Linked DNA regions of Homo sapiens: regions 1, 2 and 3 are each linked to region 4. The links are contacts of gene promoters, found by promoter capture Hi-C in human tissues and cell types (Jung and others, 2019). All regions are on one chromosome and are shown on one strand. Each heading gives the region's core, a stretch centred on a gene start or on the middle of the fragment in contact. The rest is flanking DNA. Distances are from core to core; before and after follow the strand shown. Region 1 overlaps PIP4K2A (phosphatidylinositol-5-phosphate 4-kinase type 2 alpha). Region 2 has its middle 40 kb from the start of DNAJC1. Region 3 has its middle 54 kb from the start of PIP4K2A. Region 4 holds the start of COMMD3-BMI1 (COMMD3-BMI1 readthrough).

What was found. The method cuts DNA at HindIII sites, captures the fragments that hold promoters and counts their contacts. A contact is called where the count stands out against the background at its distance.
Region 1: a fragment that was not itself captured here is called in contact with the fragment with the promoter of COMMD3-BMI1 in region 4 in 2 of the 25 tissues and cell types used here (dorsolateral prefrontal cortex and hippocampus).
Region 2: a contact is called between a fragment that was not itself captured here and the fragment with the promoter of COMMD3-BMI1 in region 4, in 2 of the 25 tissues and cell types used here (heart right ventricle and mesendoderm cells).
Region 3: a contact is called between a fragment that was not itself captured here and the fragment with the promoter of COMMD3-BMI1 in region 4, in 2 of the 25 tissues and cell types used here (aorta and lymphoblastoid cells).

Annotation. Positions count from the first base shown.
Region 1 is chr10:22,603,813-22,609,693 of GRCh38, forward strand. PIP4K2A (phosphatidylinositol-5-phosphate 4-kinase type 2 alpha) reads right to left here. Exons shown (of 10, transcript NM_005028.5): 2 at 5,808-5,881; 3 at 4,115-4,211. Among named protein-coding and RNA genes, the nearest start is that of PIP4K2A, 110 kb to the right of the region's middle. RefSeq lists an enhancer at 1,281-1,430. The HindIII fragment of the contact is 6,591 bases long and covers 620-5,881 here.
Region 2 is chr10:22,040,908-22,046,969 of GRCh38, forward strand. No RefSeq gene overlaps it. Among named protein-coding and RNA genes, the nearest start is that of DNAJC1, 40 kb to the left of the region's middle. RefSeq lists an enhancer at 1,693-1,987. The HindIII fragment of the contact is 9,284 bases long and covers 1-6,062 here.
Region 3 is chr10:22,765,561-22,771,641 of GRCh38, forward strand. No RefSeq gene overlaps it. Among named protein-coding and RNA genes, the nearest start is that of PIP4K2A, 54 kb to the left of the region's middle. The HindIII fragment of the contact is 4,037 bases long and covers 1,743-5,779 here.
Region 4 is chr10:22,315,025-22,320,880 of GRCh38, forward strand. COMMD3-BMI1 (COMMD3-BMI1 readthrough) reads left to right here and starts at 1,364. Exons shown (of 14, transcript NM_001204062.2): 1 at 1,364-1,532; 2 at 2,860-2,971; 3 at 3,081-3,144; 4 at 3,248-3,282; 5 at 3,935-3,994. The coding sequence starts at 1,394. COMMD3 (COMM domain containing 3) reads left to right here and starts at 1,364. Exons shown (of 8, transcript NM_012071.4): 1 at 1,364-1,532; 2 at 2,860-2,971; 3 at 3,081-3,144; 4 at 3,248-3,282; 5 at 3,629-3,689; 6 at 3,782-3,838; 7 at 3,935-3,994; 8 at 4,915-5,282. The coding sequence starts at 1,394. The coding sequence ends at 4,974. RefSeq lists silencers at 1,222-1,341, 5,560-5,819 and an enhancer at 1,612-1,911. The HindIII fragment of the contact is 4,167 bases long and covers 986-5,152 here.

The sequences.
Region 1 (5,881 bases), core at 2,665-5,164, 290 kb after region 4:
TCCTGAAACACACCTTTAAAGTATGACGATGGATATCATGCTGGCCAAACAATGATCAGAACCTTGATGACACACTGATTCAACCCTGAGCATATTACAAACCTATCATGCAATTTAAAAATGCCCTAATGAATTGGAAAAAGTTCTGAATCTAGAAGCACTGGTTACACACATGCGCGAGCACACACGCGCGCACGCACACACACACACACACACACACACACAGAGGTTTACATATGTATGTTACATGGTACTGTGGTACTGTTATTAACAATGGATATTCTAGAATTGTTCTTTGAATTTGTCTTTAACAACAAGGAAAAGTCATTTTTAAAAGATATTCCAGAAATCAAAACCAGAGGAAAGATACAAATGTTTACTGAGAAAGCAGGAATGTTTTCATTTTTCATTTCATTATCCTTTTCATTTATCTTAAAAACTTTTTAAGAAGTTTAAATTCACCAGTAGGGGTCAACTGCATAGGTTACTACTTAACCATGCTCTGCTTTAATCAGAGTGGTCTCCACAGACCAATACCTACTTTTTTCAGGTGTAGCAAAAAGGTGGTCACACAAACAAGACAAGTCGGGACCATTTACCCACTTGGCTGAATGGAAAGGTCTGAATACGAGATAAACCAGACGATGGAGCCCCTAACCACCACATTGATTTAGAGCCGCTTGTCCAAAATGCAAGCAGTTTGGAAAAATAAACACAGCAGGCAATGCCTGTTCCCCTTCAGCTATCCAGTGTCCTCCAAAACACTATGAGAGCCTAGGTCACTGATCCTACTTTCCAAGTCAGTTGGGAAAGAGTATTCAAAAAGCAGCTCACATTGATAAGCTCAGAAAGAGAGTTGGTTTTTTTCCGATATACGCAGTCTTCAGCAGCCAGTACCCAGGAGTGACAGAGGCGGCCGGTGGGAGACTCTACTCAGCAAAGGCACATTGGCAAGCTCCAGGAGAGGAAAACAAGGTTGCTTTTAGTCATTTGGCGCCACATGTGCCAAATGATACCTGTTACTTGAACTGGGCATGAGGATTGAACTGTCTGGGCAGTAACAATGTGCCAGGCAGCTGAAGCCCCAGGTCCTGGCCCCTGCCCGCCTGCCGCCTGAATCCCTGCAGTATACAGGGGCCTGCGAGGTGACCCTGGAGCCAGAGCTGTCACAACGACCCTCCTTTCTTCCAAACCAAGTAGCCAAAAGACTGGGATACAGCCCCAGATTTACGATCCTGTTTTCAGCTGGAACTCAGGGTCCCTGACCCTACTGAAGAATTTTAAGAGGTACAGACACTGGGAAAGAAATATACGACTGAGGAGGGAAGAAGAGTATACCTCTGCAGTACTGAAGTGACTCTGAATACACACTTTTTCTTTCTTTTTTTTCTTTTTTTAATAGAAATACAGTTGCCAAAGAGAAAGCAGCAGGCAGAGCTAAGGAAAGGAGGAGTGTTCGAATGATTAATCACACTCACACCACTCTCCCCAACAGGGAGCTCTCATGTGAAGAGTTTAACGGACTTGCCAATTAGTTACTTGTGAATCATCCTCCACTTGCCTAATTTTCTTTCAAAGTTTGTACTCAGCAATTTGTACTGACTTCAATATCAACTTACGTAGTTTTCTTTGTAGGGCGAAAAAAAGGGAAGGAAAACCAGTTCATGTCTTTGCATTTCAGCAACTAAATTGGTCATTTGAGGAAATTTTAAAAACTACTTTTCTCTGCTGCAGTGCAGAACTCAGACCATAATGGGTTCATTTTGGATCTCATTTGACAGAATTGATTATGACAAGAAATAGAAAGACTTCATTTCAATAATGAATTGAGGAATCTAACAAGATAAGATAGATGCATGGGCCCTCAAAAGTCAGTTTCTGTGAAATGCCAGTGGAATTGTTTTATTAAAACAAAACCCAGCCAAACAAAAAAAGGACGTGGAGAGAAGGAGGAACACACTGGTGTTCAGCTTTTCTTAAGGCAGAGGAGATTTTCTTAAGACACTGAAGCTATCTGCTGTTAATTCCTTTAAAAAAAAAAAAAAAGCACCTAGTTCATTTTCAGGTGGCCTCTTTAAATTTAGTAATGGTTCTAAAGTGATACAGAATTATTAATTTTAACTTCAGAGAAATGCTTTTTACTATTCTAATAATTTTCTGTTAAAGTTAATTATTTTTACAGCAGTAAATTTCAAGTCCATAATTGTGATCTAAGTTCTCTCTTAAAAATTAAGCCCCAAGGCCAGGTGCACTGGCTCATGCTCTGGGAGGACGGCTTGAGGCCAGGAGTTTGAGACCAGCCTGGGTAACATAGTGAGACCCCAATCTCTACCAAAAAAAAAAAAAAAATTAGCTGGGCATGGTGGTGCACACCTGTAGTCCTAGCTACTCTGGACGCTGAGGTCGGAGGATCACTTGAGCCCAGCAGTTTGAGGCTGCAGTGAGCTATGATCACACCACTGTACTCCAGCCTGGGCAACAGAGCAAGACCTTGTATCAAGAAAAAAAAAGAAACGCCCTAACAGGAGTGTTGGCTCCCACGCAGTTTTAATAGCAGATGAGCAACCACATCCTTCCTGTCCCACTAGCCAGCCCTCAGCTCTTCTGTGTACACAGAGCCTCAGCTCAGGGTCTGGACCTCCATGTAAACCACAACCCCAGGCCATCATGAGACAATGTCACCGGCAGCCTGGTCAGCGCTGCTTTCTCCAAACATGGCAGCCTCTCTCATGCCTGAGTAAACATATGAAAAATTCCTGGAAATTTTTGGCAATGGTACAGAGAGGGCAGTGGGAGCACAGATCTTTAGGAAAGTGTGCTAACTATCTCAGTTTGCCTGAGGGACCCTATTCTTCAGAGGAAAATACAGGGTAAGCTGTATCAGTACTCAATCTGTAGTCACCCAGGGTGGCAATATGTCACTTAATGCAGGATAAATTCAGATCTTAAATTGAGGGCAGATTAGGACTAGATTTGAAGGGACTTAAGTCAGTATATGCTGAGCATCCTTTATTTGAAATGCCTGCAGCCAGTCGTATTTCAGATTTTTTCAGATTTCAGAATATTTGCAAAGATAATGAGATATCTTGGGGATGGGACCCAAGTCTAAACACGAAATTTATCTATTTCATATACACCTTATACACATAGCCTAAAGGTAATTTTATACAATATTTTAAATAATTGTGTACATGAAACAAAGGCTGTGTTGAGCACTTAACTGTGGAATTTTCCACTTGTGGCATCACGTTGATGATCAGAAAATATTCGATTTGGAAGCATTTTGGATTTCAGATTTTCTGATTGGGATACTCAACCTGTCCCTTGGATTTCCACTTTTAAAAAAAATCCTTAGCATTTACGAATCTGGCTCGCTATATGAAACTTGGGTAACCAATGTCAAATCCTTTCTCAGAAAAAAATGATCATGGCTCAACAGTTATTTAAAGAGTTAAAACAGATGTTTAAAAGTTAGAATGAAGGACCAGGCCAGTGTGGGGAGGAGAGCAGCAGTGCACATTTTTACGTGGTGGGAATCAAGATGAAGAGGAAGATGTACCACAGGACACGCCCAGGATGTTGGGTTCCTGGTGCTGACCACAGTGCTATGGTCACTCCACAGTCCAGCACTGCAGTGCACAAAGGGTGCCCTTTGACAAAAATGCTGCAGCAAGAGTCTGACCAACTTGAAAAGCAGCAAATCAGCAAGATAAAGATTCCTGAGAGTCCTAAGTAGCCTCTACGAAGATACAAAACATGCACACTCACACAGGCTACTGACATGTCTGACAGCAGAAATTAACAGGCAGCTCTGCTAGCCTGTTAATTTCCACCTGGAAATGAGAGTATTATATAAAACCCTCACATGCTCAGTCTCCTTCCAAAGAAAAGTAATATATTTTCCTACTGACTTTTATACCGGTATCATATGTATAGAGGTCCCCAATCAAGAGAACACTTTACTTCAGCATGAACATTAAAAACTTCTTACACAAAATGAAAATTACTATTATATAATACTTTTATTGACAAAAATACAGATCCCAATTGACACAGCAAAAGTCATGGCAAAACCCATTTCCTACTGGAAGCAAATGTTACAAACGCAACTCACCTGGAAATCTTGATCATCAATTCCAAACCTCTCCCGCAGGTTACGGAAGACCATCGGGCAGTATTCCTTAAACTTGAAATGGCTCGGCATGTTTTCTCTGAAACAGTCACAGCGTGGAATAAAGCTCAGAGAGAGTCAATCAGACTTGCATCTGCCACCACTGAGTTCCACAGGTAGCCAAAGAAGGGTTCAGAGTTCACTGCCTACCAAAAGCACAGGTGTGCTTCCTAGAACCAGGTACAACCCGCAGAAAGATCCAGGAGACACAGGGGGCCAGACGGATGTCTGTCTGTCTCCTTTGTCACAGGCACGCTTGGACTATGTGACCTCTTTAAATCCTGGCCACACACTGCAGCCATTCCTCAAAGAACAAGAGGTGGGGAAGGAACGGGCCAGGCAGGGGGAGCAGTGAGGGAAAAGCACAATGGCGGGAGAGTGAGTTAGGAAGAGGCAGCGGAGCAAGGTTCCCTCTCAGCTACTGCTGAGGAAAGGAGGGCCACTCCCTCACCCCCCTAAAAGGCCTGTTTTATATAAATGCCACATTCTAAATTTGCTTAGAGGAAATTCCCTGAAAGTCAGCTTCTAAACACTGTTATGAGAAAAATTAACATCAGCTTCACATAAGGACAATGGCCCCCTGAAGAAATTTCATAATTGGCCTGGCATGGTGGCTTACACCACTCATTTGTAATCCCAGCACTTTGGGAGACTGAGGTGGGAGGATTTCTTGAGGCCAGGAGTTTGAGGCCAGCCTGGGGAACATAGTGAGACCCCTGTCTTTACAAAAAGTTTTTTAAAAAATCAGCTGGGCATGGTAACCTGCACCCGTAGTCCCAGCTATTCAGAAGGCTCAGGAAGGGGGATTGCTTGACCCCAGGAATTTGAGACTGCAGTGAGATATAATTTCACCACTGCACACCAGCCTGAGCAACAGAGCAAGATCCTGTCTCAAAAAAAAATTTCATAATGATCCTCACATGGGAGTGATTTGAGGTTCACCCTAATCATTCAGAATTGTTTCCCTCTTTGTGTTCCCACACAACCAGATAAATTAAATTATACATATGCACACACCCCTCCCTTATCATACTTTGCACACTGAACTATAGCAGTTTGTATATGTGTCAGTTTTTGTACTCTGAGCCCCTTGAGGGCAGGGCCGTGTCTTCTATATCATTGCATCTCTAGCTCTCAATGGACCACCTAACATATAATAGGTGCTTCATAATGACGTCTAAAACAACATTCAAATGAAGGAGGAATGTTATCAATGCCCAACATGGCATCTAATTGTGCCTTATGAAAATGTACCTTGGGTCTTTATTGTTCTAAGATGGAGTCATTGCTGTTCATAAATCATCATTTTCAAAGTTCTGTGTACAAGAGCAGAGGTTCATAACTGCTCAAAAATCCAAGCAATTTACAGCTTCAAAAATTTGAATTATAATGAGAATATCACTTTCAACGTATAAGATATTCATAGAGAACAATATGCCATATGGCAAAGGATATTATCCCAGAGAGCCTGCTGTTGCTTCTCTAAAAATGACAGATGGTTATGTTTATCACAGGATTAACTTCATCAGCAAAACTTTACTCCCACCCATTGACAAATTATGTGATTACAAAAATTCACAAAACTTGTACTCCTAGCAGCCACGCTAGTCTTATGAAAGGTCATACTTGTACTTACTTGTTAAAAAGGTGATTGTCCACCTTTATTTTTGAATAGGCTTTGAAGTCATCTGGCATCAACATAACAGGGAT
Region 2 (6,062 bases), core at 1,203-3,702, 270 kb before region 4:
GATCTGAGGCAAGTGAGGACACAAAGAAAGTGAAGATGCCTTAGTACTGTGTTTCATACATAGTTGTAACCTACCTTTAGAGATAGTAAAGCAAAAAATTAGAATGATTTAGATTGTTTAGCTGGGAGAAAATAAAACAGATGGTATTCTGTTCTTAATTTGCAATGTTAAGAAAGGTAGAAGAGCATACATCTTTTTTTTTTTTTTTTTGAGACGGAGTCTCATTCTGTCACCCAGTCTACCAGGCTAGAGTGCAGTGCCGCGATCTCGGCTCACTGCAACTCCTCCCTCCCGGGTTCAAGTGGTTCTTCTGCCTTAGCCTTGGGAGTAGCTGGGACTACAGGCAAGTGCCACCATGCAGGGTTTCACTATGTTAGCCAGGATGGTCTCAATCTCCTGATCTCGTGATCCGCCCACCTTGGCCTCCCAAAGTGCTGGGATTACAGGCATGAGCCGTCGTGCCCAGCCAAGCATACATCTTTTAAATCCACAATCTTTCTTTCCATTCCTCAGCAGAAATTATGCTTAGAACATAGGAAAAGGGACTCAACTGGTAAATAAATGATCAGGCATGATTATTTTTATTCTTAAAATTCTTTCCTTGTTATAAAAGTAACGCACAGCATGTAGAAAGTTAGGAAAATATTGACCAACATGAAAAGAGAATAAAGGTTGCTCAGATGCTACTCAACAAAAGATAATTAACATTTTGGTGTATTTCTTTTTTTTCCTATCTTTTCAATTTTGATTAGGTAATACATTCACATGGTTCAAAAATTCGAAGTTACAAAAAACATACCCAGTCACCTAGGCATGGAGTTCTGCCACCTGGAAACAAGCAATGTATATTTCTCATGTATTTTTCCAAATCATTCCAGAGCTAATGTGTGTATGTAAAAACAGATACATGTAGTTTTCCCTTTTTCTTTTTTTCAGAAACTATAGCATACTATACACACTGTTGTGCAACTTATTATTTTTTACTTAACCATAAATCTTGGAGATTTTTCATATCAATCTACAAAGGACTTTCTCTCTCTCTCTCTCTCTTTTTTTTTTTACTTCTGTGTATCATCCAGTTGTATAGATATATCAGGATTTATCTGAGAAATTTCCTTTTCATGGATATTCATGGTTTTTTCCAGATCTTTTGCAATTACAAACAATACTACAATGAATTACCCTATTCCTGTGCCATTTTTCACCTGTATATCTTTTGGATAAATTCCTACTGTGAAAATACTAGGTCAAAAAAAAGGTTGGCTAGATTCTGCCAAATTGCCCTCCAGAAAGGTTCTAAATTATTTTCAATCCATATTTTCTTTTATAATTTATTATAATAAAAGGTATATGTTTATTATTTTACTTCCAGAGAAAAATTATGAGATCATGGAACTTTTCTCCCACTCACATCTCAATAAATGAATAAGATATAGAAATAGCATGTACACACAGAGAGTTATCAAACTAGAGAGGAGCAAACACTTCTCTAAGAACTTGGAAAACTGTTGCCAGACACAGAGGGTTGTAGGAATTAATAGGCAAATCCTCAGTTGCTTATTCAGAAATAGTGTTCATCATTTCTGTAGTCACCCATTCACCAAAGATTTATTGAATGCTTGCTACGTGCTGGAATACTAGACCTGTGATAGATTTTGCATATGCAAGAGTGAGAGAGAGAAAAAAGCAAGGGGAAGGTGTTGAGACAAAATTCTCCTCTGTGTTAACACCTCCACATTGGGGTTGAGCAGAGCTGATGGTGACAGGGTGTGGATAGGCAGCCCAGAAGGAAAGACACAGAAAGTTGCCCTGGAAATCCGCACCTCACGGCAGGGTGGTGGTGACTCAGCGAAATCCACACACAGTGCCAATCACATCGGTTTGTTTTTCTCTTGCTGGGAGGAAGATAGGAGAAGAATTGAGGTATAATATGAACTATCCCTAAACATTAAAAAGAAAAGTCTTGACAAAATAAAATGGGAAAAAAATCAATTAAAACTGCTGGAAACATACTGGGTGCATAGAAAGTCCCACACGAAACCAGTCTTTCGTTGTCCACACAAATAGTGCCTTAGCCTGAACTAGAAGCCCTACCTTTGTCCTTTCCTTTTCCCCTTACTTAGCGAGGAAAAAAGCTTTGGTTATAAAGAGTGGACAGGAAACACTCCCTTAAGGCTAACAGCTTCTGACAGTAGCCAAAGTTTAGCAACACCTGAATTAGAGGCATAATCAGGAAATAGAGGCTTTCCCTTCCCCTAGCACCCCTTCCTCAAGTATCAGAACAGACAGAAGTACACCCGATCTAGAGGAATAAACTCTAGTGCAGGCAGAACACAGACCCCAGAACTATCCCAAGCCCAGCCACAAGTGAGATAAGACTATCAATCTCTCTGTTAAACAAGACATCTAGTAGAATTACACGCATTTATTCTTTTTATCATGCAGGTGAGGGTAGAAAAAAAATGCTAGCAATGTTCTGCTGCTTTGACAGAACAATCTTACGAGTATTCATAACATATAGGAACACAGAAACGTCAATCATGACATGAAGACAGCATCAGGCTACTGAGTAAGACGACTCATCAGAATCACAGGGCTCTTTGGAGATTACTTTTAAGGAAATGGCAAGGATTTCTAGAGCCTTTGTTCATATTTTCCTTCCAAGGATAAATTTATAAGGCTAAAGAACAGAACTAGCGAGTATAGTTATAAATATTCACACGTCTCAATGCCACATCGAATCAGATTCTTTGGACTTGTTTTATGACACAAAGACGGTCAGTCTTCTGTAGCTGCAGAGGAGAAAGCACATTTCCTTCCTCTGTCTCTTAGATTCTTTTTGTGAATTATGAAGATTTGCTTTTTTAAGAGCCAACTCTGGAATTTTACTTGTAATTTAAAGCAAAAAATCAGGCCTGTGGAGCTCAATATTATTTAGGGAAATGGAGAAAAAGATGAGCATGATTTTACTAAGTAACATAATAAGCTGAAACTTATTATGAAGGGAAGATGCCAACTTGCGCCTTGATAAGGAAGGAAGGGGAGAATTCACCTGTAGTATAATTGGAAAATTAGAGGGCCCAGATAACCAAATTGCTTTTAGAATAAAGAGCCTCGAAGATAAACTCTGTTACTCAAGATAAACAGGAATAATTTATAATAATGAAAGGTTCATTTCAACTGGTAGCTTTGGTAATTTTAAATTTGTATGCACTTAATAACTTAGCCTTAACAATTGACAGATGAAGAGAAATAGACAAATCCACACTCATAATGTGGCATTTAATATAGCCACTCAGTAATTGATAGAGCAAATGGGAAAATAATTCCTAAAAATATGTATAATTTAAGCATCATGATTAATAAACTTGATCTAATAAACATATATTGAATACTGCATGTAATAAGCACATTCACAGAAACTGACCATTTACTGGATTGTAAAGCAGGTGTCAACAAATGTCACAGAAATGAAATAATCATAAGCATATTTCTTAACAAAATACAAGTTAAACATCAGTACCAAAAAAAGACATCAAGAAAACCTTCATATGTTTGGAAATTAATTAAATACACATCTAAGTATCTCAAGGGTTAAATAAGAAATTACAGTGGTATTAAAAAAATAGTTTGAACTGAGCAATAATGAAAATACTACCTAACAAAACTTATGAGATTTAGCTAAAGCAACATTTAAAGGAAAAGTATATTACAGGCATATATTAGAAAAAAGCTAAAAATTAATTATTAAAAATTAATAATTCAAGAAAATAGAAAAAGAATAGCAAAACAAACAAACAAACAAAAACAAAACCCCAAAGCAACAAAGAAGGTGGAAGGAAGGACATGATAGAAATAAGAACAGAAACTAATTAAATAGTTTCCATACACTATGGAGACAATAAAGCCAGAGTGATTCTCTAAAACACCTAATAAAATTAACGAACTTCTCGTGAGACCAAAAAAAAAAAAAAAAAGAGTGATAGCACAAACACACAAATAAATAATATCAAAAAAGAAAAAGAGAACGTTACTAAAAAAGTCAGAAATATTAAAAAAAAAGTCATTTGAACAATTTTATGCCAGTAAGTTTGAAAATGCAGATGAAATGAACATATTCTAGCAAAGCACAATTTACACAAACTATTGAAATAGAAAAACAGAATGGTGCTAAAATCAGAATGGCCTTTCAATACATTTGAAGTATTGAATTAAGGAAAATTTCAGGCTTCGATAGCTTCACATTGAATTCTGGCAGTCAAGGAACAAATAATTCTGATCTATTCTCATATTATACACAAACTCTGAGAGTAAAAAAAAGATAATGCTGCTAGTCTCATTTTATAAGGTTAGCATAAAGTTGATAGCAAGAGAGAAAAATTATAGGTCAATGTCACTCAAGAATATAGATAAAAAATTGTAAAAAAAATCAGCAAACTGAATCTAGCAATACATAAAAAGTATAAAGCAATATGACTGTGGTAGCCAGTCTCTAAAATAGGCCCCAGTGTTCACCACCTCTGGGTCATCCCCTCCCACATTCTATTAGGTACGTGACCAACAGAATACAGTAGACATGATGGTATGTCACTTCTGAGATTTGGTTATTAAAGACATGGTGGCTTCTATCTTTATTAATTTCTCTCTCAGATCATTCACTCTGGGGGAAACCAATTGCCATGTCATAAGCAGCCCTGTTGAGAGGACCACATGATGAGGTGTAAGCCTCCTGCCAACTGCCATGTTGATGAGCTTGGAACTGCAGCAATGGCTGACATCTTGACTTGAAACCTTACGTGAGACCTTCTGGATTCCTGACCCACAGAAGCTGCATGAGATAATAAATACTTGTTATTTAAGCTGTTGCATTTTGGAGTAACTTGTTTTGGAGCAATAGATAACTAATATATACAATAACTAACTTGTATTTGTTCCAGGAATGAAAACCTGGTTTGACATGAGAAAAATCAACTAATGAATTCCGCCACATTAAAGGAAAAATTTATATGGTCATCTCAGCAAACATACAAAAGTGTTTGATGAAATTCAGCATGCATTGGTAATTTATTTAAAAATTTTGCAAACAAGAATGAAAGAAAATGCCCTTAAAAGCAATGAAAATGAACAAACTAAAGCCTCATGCAACAATCATAAATGAAAAGAAATCAAAAGTAGGTGAAAATAAACTATGTTGTTTACAGATTCATACATAGGTGGCAAACCATAAAGACAAGCAAGGAATTGGCCATCACGTGCGTCAGGATAGTGATGCACATGGAAGTAGGAGGCAGGTGTTATGGCTCACAGGCAGCTTCTAAACTTAAGACACTGTTCTGAATCTTGACCCGACCAGTAATTACACAGGTGCTTGTTTTCCTTTTTTTTTTTTTCCTGAGACAGGCTCTCCCTCTGTCACCCAGATTGGAGTGCCGTGGTGTGATCATGGCTCACTGCAGCCTTGACGTCCTAGGCTCAAGTGATCCTCCCACCTCAGCCCTTCAGCCTTCCAAATAGCCAGGCCACAGGCACACGCCACTGTGCCTACCTATTTTATTTTATTTTATGTTTTAATAGAGATAGAGTCTCACTATATTGCCTAGCCTCATCTGAAACACTTAGGTTCAGGCAATCTATCTGCATCAGCCTCCCAAAATGATGAGATTACAGGGGTGAGCCACCACATCTGGCTCAGGTATTTGTTTTCTAATTATTATTTAAATCATACATATAGGAGCTATGCACTTTTTTCTAAGGGTATTATCTTTCAACAGTAAAAAAAAAGTTAATGATGCAGAAAAATAACACTTATTAATGTACCATATTAACAGATTAAAGGTGAAAAACCCATATTATCTCAATAGACACAGGAAAAGCATTTGATAAAATAAAAGCTATTATTTTAAATTTAAAAAGACAGTAAATTAGTACAGAAGAAAGAAACATTCTTAACCTACTAAAAGGTATATAGCAAAAAATCTACAGCATACATCATATTTAATGATAAGACATAGGAAAAATTCCCTTTAAAATTAAGTATGAGGTAAGAATAGCTTCAATTATTG
Region 3 (6,081 bases), core at 2,511-5,010, 450 kb after region 4:
ACGGTGAAATCCCATCTCTACTAAAACTACAAAAATTAGCCGAGTGTGGTGGTGTGTGCCTATAATCCCAGCTACTTGGGAGGCTGAGGCAGGAGAATCGCTTGAGCCTGGGAGGCGGAGGTTGCAGTGAGCAGAGATGGAGCCACTGCACTCCAGCCTGGGCAACAGATTAAGATTCTGTCTCAAAAAAAAAAAAAAAAAAAAAAAAAAGAGAAAACACATGATATATTTGCATATTTCCATTGCTAGTAATAGATTAGTGTATAAACATAACGTTAAAAAATAAACTGATGCCAGTCGCATGGTGTATCTTAAATGCAAATGTCTTCCAGACCAAAATTACCAGTGTCTCTAGAGCAATGATATAAATAACATGTGCTTACTTTTCAACTTACAAAAGAAATGACAAGACTAATGAGTTTTTGGTAGTCTCATAAATACCATGTCTGAAAATAGTTCATCAGTTTTTGGGACTCATCCATGAAATGCTTACATATTGTTTCAGTAAGGTACACATTTTGTCACACTTTAGCGGTTTGGAAAGAGTACCATCAATAATGAGATTAAGGAGAATTGTACAATTTGCATGGGAATTTAGGTATGAGAGAATTCTCCTAACATGTAAAATATCTGCAATTCTGACATCTTAGTACATTTGCATGAAGGTAACTGAGGGCCAAAAAAGAAAAAGGCGCTATATTGTGTCAAACATGAGACCTCCCCTGAAATTCCCATTTCGGTTACACACTGTTTGCTACATCTGAAGATGAAATTGTTCTCTCACTTCCTTTTCTTTTGTTCCAAATCTGACCTCTGAAGACAGGCTAAATGGGCACCCAAAGAGGAAGAACATATTTGCAGCCTAGACCATTGCAGTTGCTATGTTAGGTGGTACAGAAGTCTTTTGTCTTGGCCAACAGTGCTGTAGTCAAGTCCTACATTCTGTGTGGGAGGCCAAGAAAGAGGCAATAACATATTTTAATATTTCGACCCTTCTTTGAAGTCAATATGAGTGTGGAGCGAGGTGTTTTGTAGCTATTAAATATATCTATCAAGTAAGACATTTTAGCTCCTGTAAAAATATATTATTTTTTGAAAGCTTATTATTGTTCTCAATTCTGATTCTAGGTAGCCGCTATCTTGCTAAAATAAATAGAAACAATGTTTAACAACTTTTAGGTTGTGTTCATAACATGCCAGATTTTAAAGTAGCCCAGACAGTTACGAGGACCTCTGAATTTTCAGTCTAACTTAATATTTCCTGAAAGGTCTGCCAAAAACTGCAGAGGGGGAATGCCAATTTTAAGTGCGTGTGAAGTTGGGAGGAGACAGGGAGAACTTTGCCTCTTTCTGTTCCAGATTAGGATACATAAAGAGTCAAATTTATTCTGGGCTGCCCTTTGCTAGAAACTGACAGCCCAGGCAGCTAACTCCTGGCCTCAGTGGAAGTTGCCTTAAAATCAAAGAACCTGTCCCTCTAGGAGGTAGGAAGGAAGGGGATCAGAGACAAACTAGGGGGCTCCTTTGCATATATTTCCAGGGATCAATCGCTTGTTGATATAGCTGGCTTTGCAAGTAGATCACAACTTGAAGTGTTTGAAAAAAATTACTTCCTTTTTAATCTTCCAAAGATGTTTTTAATACTGTTTCTCAGCGGAGGCCAATGGTGGAAATACCAATAAAATCTGCTGTTTGAAGAGCCAGTCCTCCCTAGGTCCTGCATCCTAGGCTCTGCTGTGCCGAAAGCATCCTTTTCCTGTGTTCCATAGAAGTAGTGGTTCATTCCATTTATTTGGCATAAAGGATATGCTAATTGTATTGCTAAATATTATTTTTATTTGCAAACAGATGGGAGAAAAGTTAAAGTGTTGTTAAATATTTGTAGGCTTCTGTTCTGTCTCCATAACTGAGTTGTAACTTTAGAGCCAGGTAGTCAAGAGTGTTGGCTCCAGTCCCATTGCCTGGGTTTAATATTGAGCTTTTTCTTCTCCTAACTGTAACCACATTATCCAACTTTTCTAAGCCTCAACTTAGCCATTCGTAAAATGAGAATCATCACAGTACTTCCCTGTAGAGTTATTGTGAAGATAAAGAAGATAGCATGTAAAGTGCTTAGCAGATGTGCCAGGCACATTGGAAGCAGTCAGTAAATGTTACCTATTATTAATTAATGTGTCCTTTGAGTAAGGAAGGCGTTTCTACTGTAGCAGAGGCAAAATACTGTAAAATCAGATTCTATCAGGTACCTGGCCATCTTCCTTTTGGTGACCCAAGTTGATGGGGAATTTGGAAGGTAGTGGTGGTTTGAAGCTGTTTCCTCCCTGTCATCTATTAAGGGAAAAGAGAAAAAAGAAGAGTGGTCTGGCTCTGAGAAAACCAGGTCAAGCTTTGTTTCCCATTTAGACATTCTGTGTATAAATGCATATCATGATTCCCAGAATTCCTTCATGACAGCTCCCTGAGTTAATGGTCAAGGAGGATTTTCTCAGGCTAGGCATACCCGGATCTGCCTCAGAAGAGATCGCCAAATAGTTCCTATTTTTGGCCTTTGGCTTAGAAAAAGGGGACAAACTGCTTTTCTCAAAAAGCTTTCTGGGACATTAAACAACTTTTTTTTTTTTTAAGAAGAGGAGATTGTTTAAAAAGGAAACAGCCTAGAAGGCTGTCCAATTTCACTCTATTAGGATATAATTTTTTTCTCTTGTGTCCTCTTTCTTAGACATTATTCTTCTCATTTTTCTAGTTTGTCTCCCAGCATATGTAAGAAACATAAAGAGCCAATAGGAGGGCACTAAATTTTTCCATTGGCTTCTTGGCCATTGTCTGGGGGACTGATGTGGCTGCTGTGGCTGGGGTTTCACTCAGCAATGCCTTGGGGCTGTGTGTGTGTGTGTGTGTGTGTGTGTATAAGATGAAGTCAAGTCTGGGCTGGTCCAGAGTGGACTGGGAGTAGAATCTGGGCCATTGGTTGACAGAGGAACAAGCATGCAAAGAGTTTGGACTTTTGGACTCTCTTCTCATGGTCAGGCTTGCTGTTTCACCTCTGCCTTTAATACCTTCTCATCATATTCTTAACTGTCAAGACAATTCATTAACTTAAGGTTTGCCAAGAAGGCAGCACTGCTTCTGAGAACACACTCCTGGAGAATGAGTAGTCCCTTCTCACCTCCTTCTCGGTCACTGCTAGCTACACTTCCGCTGTATGGCATCTCTTTCTCACCTCTTCTTCCCTATCCTCAATTTTCTCCTGTTGTGTTTTCAGAATCTTAAAATTTTCTACCGGGTGCCTGTCTTCATTTCTCTTTTCTTTTTCAGTTGCAGAAAGCCCCTCCAAATTTTCTCTACTCTGAGGCCTCCTGATTTAGGACACATATAGAAAGTTATTTTACTTCTAGAGTCTCACCAAGAAAGGAAGTAGCAGTTTTGTTCATAACCAACAATCTCTTTTCCCTAAGAAGCAACAGTAACAATAACAACAATAGTGTCTTAGTCCATTTTGCATTGCTGTAACAGAATACCACAGACTGTGTAATTTATTTTTAAAAAAGAAATGTATTTCTTACAGTTCTGGAGGCTGGGAAGTCCAAGATCAAGCAGCTGCATCTCGTGAGGGCCTTCCTGCTGCATCATAATGTGGCAGAGGGCATTACATGGTGAGACAGAGCAAGCATCTTAGCTCAGGTCTCTCTTCGTCTCCTTATAAAGACATCAGTCCCATCATGAGGGATTCACGGTGACCTTATCTAATCCTAATTACCTCCCAAAGGCCTCGCCTCCAAATACCACCAACATATGAATTTGAGGACTAAGATTCCAGCACATGAAATTTGGGGAAAATATTCAAACCATAGGAAACAGTAACACACATAAAATTATGAAGAATCTACTCCATCTATGTATTTTTTAAAATGTCAAATAACATTTCAATAATTTGATTAAGAGCTTAAAGACCTTAGACATAAAAGCATTTCATTTTAAATGGTAATATTTATACATATAACAGTTCATGAAGGAAAAACACCTTTCAATGAAACACATCAAAATATATCCCCAAATGTGAATATTCTTGTGTTCTTTCATTCTATCATCAGAATTTTAAAATATACATTTATTTATTTCTTTTAGAGATAGGGTCTTGCTATGTTGCCCAGTCTAGCCTAGAAATCCTGAGCCGAGCAATCCTCCCAGCTCAGCCTCCTGAGTAGCAGGGACTACAGGCATGTGCTACAGAAGCCAGCTTTCCTGGAAATTTTAACCACATATAGGAAGATCATATAGTATTTTATTAAAGGGAAGCCTTTGGATCAGAGCAATCTAGGTTTAACTACTGACTTAGCTATTTGTACCCCAAACTTGAGCAAGCCACTTAACCTTTCTAAGCATTGGCATCCTCAGCCCTAAAATGACCCTCTTTTTTGGTGAGTATTAAAGGAGAAAATATACACAAAGCATATGGTACAGAAGAAGGTATTCAATTAAAGATAATCCTTATTCGTTGTGTGCCCAAAATATAGGCTAGGCACTAGAACAAAAGAAACAGGGCTTCTGTTCCCATGGAGCTTATAGGCTGGTAAAATGGCAGAGTTAAATAATGGCATATGGAGAACATCCTCCTCCCTTGGTTCTATTTTGCATGGCAGAATGTTTCCATGCAGCACAAAGCAAAAGAAAAGAAAATGTTGGCAATTACCTGGTAAATTAACCAAAGGAAAAGGCCAACCTTTTCTCTTTGCACACATTATACCCAGTGGCATTTGACAGATGCCTAAGAGTTATATTTGAGTCTTGCCCCCATAACCGTATCTTATTGGTCTTCAAGGCTAACCTATTCTGTTTTTTGAGTCCAGTTCCTTCTGTAGAAGGTTTTATAGTTTATAGCATCATCTGTTTGGCCTGACTTGCCAAAACATCCTCTAGTCTGGTTTACCTAGATTCTCTTATAAAAATATTTATTGAGCACTTACTCTGTGCCAAGTGCTAAGAATAGAAAGATGAAAGAGAAGTGCTATAATACAGGTCTACATCTAAAACCTGGGGTTGTGAGGGAACATGATTATATGAATGTTGAACTCAACAGAAAGATCTGTGCTGGAAAAAAAATAATTGTGGGTGAATGAGTCTCCCTAGGAAAACTGTAGAAAGAGAAAAGAATGCTAAGGATTGGACTGGGAGTCAGAGAGTGGGGCAGAAGGAAAATTTAAGGGTAGGCAGAAAAAGAAGAATCAAGGAGACTGAGAGGAAGCAACCTGCAATATAGAAAGAGACACAGAAAACAGAGAGGTGAGGAAAGCCGAGGGAAAGAATTATTTTCAGAGGGAGAGAGGGGTCAGAAATTTCTATCACAACTGAGAAATTACATGAAGACAGAGAAGTGTTTGATTGAGAACCTCGACATCCTTGGTGACCATATAGACATAGCTTCTTTTTCTTGGTTGGGGGTGGGGACTTATTAAAAATTTCCTTTAAAAATATTTAGATTCACTACAAGGAACTCAAACAAATTTACAAGAAAAAAAAAAAAACCCATTAAAAAGGGCAAACGTGGACCGGGCACGGTGGCTCACGCCTGTAATCCCAGCACTTTGGGAGGCCGAGGCGGGCAGATCACGAGGTCAGGAGATCGAAACCGTCCTGGCTAACACAGTGAAACCCCGTCTCTACTAAAAATACAAAAAAATTAGCCGGGCGTGGTGGCGGGCGCCTGTAGTCCCAGCTACTCAGGAGGCTGAGGCAGGAGAATGGCGTGAACCCGGGAGGCGGAGCTTGCAGTGAGCCGAGACTGCGCCACTGCACTCCAGCCTGGGCGACAGCGAGACTCCGTCTCAAAAAAAAAAAAAAAAAAAAAAAGTGGGCAAAGGACATGAACAGACATTTCTGAAAAGAAGACATTTATGCAGCCAACAAACATATGAAAAAAAAGCTCAGAATGGCCATTATTAAAAAGTCAAGAAACAACAGATGCTGGCAAGGTTGCAGAGAAATAGGAACGCTTTTACACTGTTGGTGGCAATGTAAATTAGTTCAGCCATTGTGGAAAATGATGTGGTGATTCATCAAAGATCTAGAACCAGAAATACCATT
Region 4 (5,856 bases), core at 114-2,613:
ATCCTTCACTGCTACTATATTCTCACCGAGTGAGGAGCCACTGCACGTGCCTTTTAAAGCTTTCAAAGGAGGGCTGAGTAGTTACTCAATCTGTTACTGATGCTTACTCCATTTGCATCCTGTTGTGAAATGAGGTACACTTTATGTATTGGTGCCAAGGTAAATGTCAACTGTATCCATCAAAAATTTTTAAAACAGACATCTAAGTTAGAAAAAGAAAATAATGTTTCACTTTGGGTCTAATGTTGCAAATAATCGCTCCTGAAGACTAAAACATCTTTGTTGTTCCGCATCCCTTCCCTCCACCCTTCAAGAACTTGCATTTTTTAACTTTTCAAGTGCTTTTGATTAAAAATACCTAATCTACTTTGCTTCACGGGTTTTTTAAAGAATCATTCTTGTTCTCTAAACCAACTTCGTAGAAATAGAGAGGAAGTTAAACTTTATACAGTATTTGAATCTTTAAAGGTATGAGCATCCTAAACAGTAACTCACTTCTAATAAAGATCTTGCCATTCCTAACTGTACTTTACTAAGGTAGCTGTTTAATAAAAACGTATTTATGCAGATTCTATAGAGCAACTAAAACGGGACCCATAGATGTGGTGAGTAGCACAAAATGTGTATGGCAGTTGGCTTTATTTGCAGCGGCATATAAAATTGTTAATAATCCTGTCAAATCTGTTCATGAATAATTTATTAATCCGATTGCTGGAGTGCAGTGCATACAGGAACTCTATGTATGCGTGCATGTGTACACACCCCCCATGCAGGAAGGACACTACTGCCGTATTCCAGAAATGACAAAAAAAAAAAAGTAAAAATAAGCAAGAATCACATAATTAGATGTCTTACAGTCTCATAAAAGGGCAGTGCTGCGAGGTTAAGCTGGTGAGCTAAAAAACAAACAAAACAAACAAAAAACCACAAAAGCAAAATCCAGTTGCCTGAGATCGGAGCTTCCCGCAGGATTCGCGCAGAGCGAGGAGCGGGGAGGACGCCGTTTGCGGGAGGCGGGGGCCGGGATCCCGACACCGTCCGCAGTCTCCCCGGGGTCTCTCAGGGAACCGAGCTGGTGGCCGTCCGAGGTAAGCGCCGAACCAAGGAGAAAGCGCCGAGCGCGTCCACAAAACGCCCGAGGCCGCCCTTCTCGCCAAGGCTCGGCAGCTCCCGCGGCCTGCGCTGGACAAGCGAGAGCTGGACGGAAACGGTGGGAGGCCGTAGGCGGCGGCTGGGGGCGCGGGACCCGCGCGCGGGCGCGGAGGCGGGCGGGGAGGCCCCGCAGCCCGCGCCGCCGCCAGCCGCCCCGAGCCGCGTGCGCGCGCGGCCGCATCAGCTGAGCGCGCGGCGCGTGTCACGTGGTGTGCGTGTCGAAGGTCACGGCGCGCTCACAATGGAGCTCTCGGAGTCTGTGCAGAAAGGCTTCCAGATGCTGGCGGATCCCCGCTCCTTCGACTCCAACGCCTTCACGCTTCTCCTCCGGGCGGCATTCCAGAGTCTGCTGGACGCCCAGGCGGACGAGGCCGTGTTAGGTAAGCCGCTCGGCTCGGCTCGGAGCTGGATCCGCCGGGGTGGAGGGGCGCTCGGAGAAGAGGAGCCGGCGGAGCGAGAAGGGGAAAGCCCCGGGAAGAGGAAGTCTCCGGGCTTTGCCCTTCGCTCCGGACGGAGTGTTGGGGACGTGGCTCTGCCAGGACTCGGAGCAGACTCTGAGCATTGTTTTGGCCCCACTTGGCACCTGCATAGAGCCAACTCCACGTTCCTGGCCCGGTTTCCCTCCCAGTCTCTTTGTTCTTTTGTAAAGCCGGTGTTCAAGTCTTGTTTGTGGCCTAAACATCTAAGGTGTTTAGCCTTGTCTGAGGCTGCGGCTGTTTTGACAGTTGGACTTCATCTGGGGAGCTCCCTGCAATTCAAGCTTCCAGGGCTAGGCTAGCAAAGGTTTAAGGGTCTGTTTCCGAAGTAATTACTAGGTCAGACAGTGTTGACATTTGCCAACTTAGAGCATACCTCAAGTTGCTATGATCACTCCAGCGCTCTAGTTCAGCATGTTTACACAGGTTCTACGCCTAGAACCTTAAACTATGATGCACAATACTTTGTTCCGCCCCAGTTACCAGGATGCGAGTGTCTTTTAAGCGATCCGGTCAGTGACTGCGGAGGTGCAGTGTCAGTATGGATTGAAGACATATTTTAAGACCGATCGCTTTTAGATGATTTTCTTAAATATAAATATCCCAACAATTCAAATTTTTGTTTTTTTTCTGTAGTTTCATGAACTAAACACTTGTACAAAAAGTATGAAAGTGGAAGTTCTTAAACGAAAATAGTAACCACCACCTGGGTTAATCTCAAAAAAAAAATGACTGTCAAACCCTGAAAGTACTAATATAATTTTGAAATTTGTATCTTATATTCTGAACTCATGCCCTACCTTCTACCCCCTTGATGTATTTGTTCATGGAGCCGGTTACCCTAAACTCATCATTTTTAGGATGGAAGTTTATTCTAAAATTGACACAATGTAAAATATTTATCTTGTTTTTCCTTTGAATTTACTCCAGTGTTAGAATGACCATTGCATTGTTATATTTTCTTTGGGGGCTATAATATTTTTTAATAGTAAAAATATTAAGGCAAAATAAGTTAATTGAAGCTAGTAATAGTAGAGTTCTTGTTGTGTTCTTTTTATTGTTTTTCACTTGATCTTGTTGCTCATCTCATTTACTTATAATTGACTGTCCTTATAGTTGATGTTTTTAATCTTGTTAAAGGGTTTTTAAACCCAAATTAAAATATCCTTTTTGGAACATGACTGTAAAGAATTTATTATCATAGGCATCACTGGAAGTTAATTTATTTTAGATCATCCAGACTTGAAACATATCGACCCAGTGGTTTTAAAACATTGTCATGCAGCAGCTGCAACTTACATACTAGAGGCAGGAAAGCACCGAGCTGACAAGTCAACTCTAAGGTACAGGATTTATTTAAATATCCATTTATTTTCAAATACTACCTTAATGATTTCAATTTCAGTTTTAAAAATGGAGACAGAACTTTGGCTTTTTTTTTCTTTCTTCTAGCACTTATCTAGAAGACTGTAAATTTGACAGAGAGCGAATAGAACTGTTTTGCACGGAATATCAGGTTACTTACTTTAAAATTTTTAATTAACAGTACTATTTTTCTTTTACTTTGTTTGTAAAGATGTTTTTTTTTCTTTCTTTCTTGCTTTCTTTTTTCTCTCCAGAATAATAAGAATTCCCTAGAAATCCTACTGGGAAGGTAGGTACTGTATAAGGTGTCAAGCTGAGGCACTTTTCACTTGCAGGTATGAATGGAGAGTGTTGGTGTGAAACAAGATCTTCGGGATCTTGACCCAAAGAAAAGGAGCCAAAGGGCATGTCAAGCAATTGAAGTTAAGCTCATGTTTTTAAAGATCGTTTATTGAGATGATTTTGAAATGCTCCTTTACCATTCATAATTTAAAAATAAAGTTTAACAATGGTTTAAATTCAGAATGGATTAAAATGGAGTTGGGGGTGGAAAGTAGAGCCATTCTTAGTAAATATAAATAACTGAAAAGTTCTTCTGAGGAGACTATGTACGAAGTTATCATTGCATCTTTCAGTATAGGCAGATCTCTCCCTCATATAACGGATGTTTCTTGGCGCTTGGAATATCAGATAAAGGTAAAGTTTAAGAAACTTCTCTAGCGGGGGATTTAGGGAACTTCTTAAAACCTAGAGTTAAAAGCTGTTGCGTGTTTGTTGTGTTATTTTAGACCAATCAACTTCATAGGATGTACAGACCTGCATATTTGGTGACCTTAAGTGTACAGGTATTTATAGATAAGTCTTATCCAATAATGAAATTTATAATTTCATTGATTTAAATAAACAGCGTTTCTTGTTGCGTGTTTTTTTTCCTGCCCTAGAACACTGATTCCCCATCCTATCCAGAGATTAGTTTTAGTTGCAGCATGGAACAATTACAGGTACAGTATTAGGATCTATAAATATTCCTGTCTTTTTATAAATGTTTACTTGAGAGTTATACTCTTGGGAAGTTCAAAAGAAAATTAATCTAACCATTTGTCAGCAGATAATGAAGATTGGTTAAGGATTTAATGGGAAAGGGGCATCAAAAGTAGTATTTTAAGATAGGCTTCACTTGAAATTAAGATGTTATTAATAGAGAATTGGTCTGTATTTGCTGTTCTTGCTGATTGAAATAAACTTCTGTAGTGTTTAGTGTAAATTTCTTCTATTCATGATGAGTTTGGTCCAATAAGATAAACAAAATTAAGAGCATGGCTTTGAAAATGTCTTTGCTTTCAGAAATTGAATTAAACTGTCAAAATTGGATTTTGAAACTTTTTAAATGACTTTATAAAGGGGGAAGTATACATAACATTCTAAAACTGTTTATATTGCCCATTTAAGACTGGGAAAATTCAAAACTACATTTATTAGTGGATATGACAACGAATTTATTTCATAGTTTTTAAAAAATGAAGCTCATTACTGGAAATTTAAGTGAAATTGAATTTTTCAAAGGCATCTTCTGCAGAGTCGTTTTAATGTAACTATGAATCAAACTTTCAACTTTCAGAAAATGTGTATACAGCATAACCTTTGTTAGATAACTTGAGAAAATTCAGATGTATCTGGGCGGTTAAGGATCCGGTTAGAAATCATGTTTCAGTGTGAGGGCAAATAACCGATTTGAACATGAGGTATTTCCGAGGAAACGCTTTTTTTGCCCGATAGTAGTTTGTCAAAAGTTAAAATCTTGTTGAATTTTAAACTTGTTTGGAAGGTGTGTCCTGATTTTTTTTCTTGCATCTTTCTTGAGCTTGGATACTTCTTTCCATGTTTTATCCTAAAAACGTGGTATTGTATACACGTCTTTTAGGACTTGGTGGGGAAACTTAAAGATGCTTCGAAAAGCCTGGAAAGAGCAACTCAGTTGTAACTTGGGGAAGTTAACGATCCGCCCGAGTGCAGAGGAAAACCAGAAACGCCTTGCCTTCAGCTGAACCACCGTTTGTGCGAGCTGGATGTCCTTTTCAGTAGAAAAGAATTTTCCTTTTGAATTTATACCATTCATCAATTTTGACACTTTAAAAACGTGTGAAAGGGTTAAGAGGGAAAGATACTGCCCAAGTATTTGAATCGTTTAGTAGTAACTGTCCATTTATCCTATTTTGATCTTTTTCAAGTCTTCTGAAAGGAAGTAGACAGTATTACACCCTGAATAAATAAGGTGTTGTTTTCCACAAAGAGTGATGATATTTTGTTTGGATCTGAGTTCGTGTGTTATTACTTTGTGTGAAGCTAGATAGGAGTAGTGTGAACTTTTAACGATAGCCTTTTCTCAGGATTAAAGTTAAACACGGAGGAAACGATGCGATCTCCTGGGTTTGTCGCAGACCCCTGCTTCGGGGCTCCGGGGGCGGGCGCGGGCGGCTGCCCGGCCCGTTACCTGCGCCCGAGGGCTCGCCCACAGCCCGACCCTCGGCCGCCCGGTCCCGGCCCGGCGCGGAGCCCCTGCCCGGAGCCAGCCGTCGCCCGCGCGCGCCCCGCCTCGGCCGCCCGCGGGCGGGGAAGAGGCCGGCGCGGCCGCGGGCTGGCGGGCAGGGGCGGGCGCTGTTGTTTCCGCGAGCCCAACTTGGGCGCAGGTTCCGCGCCGCGGCGCCGGAGCCTGGGCCGCAGCCCGCGGGGCCGGCCGGGGGGCGGCGGCCGCGGGACGTATGCGCCCCGGGAGGAGGCGGGCGGCCGGGAGAAAGAAAGAACGGGGGGCGGGGTGGGCTGCGCGGCGTGCGGGGCCGGAGCGGCGGCCGCGCGGAGCAGGGCG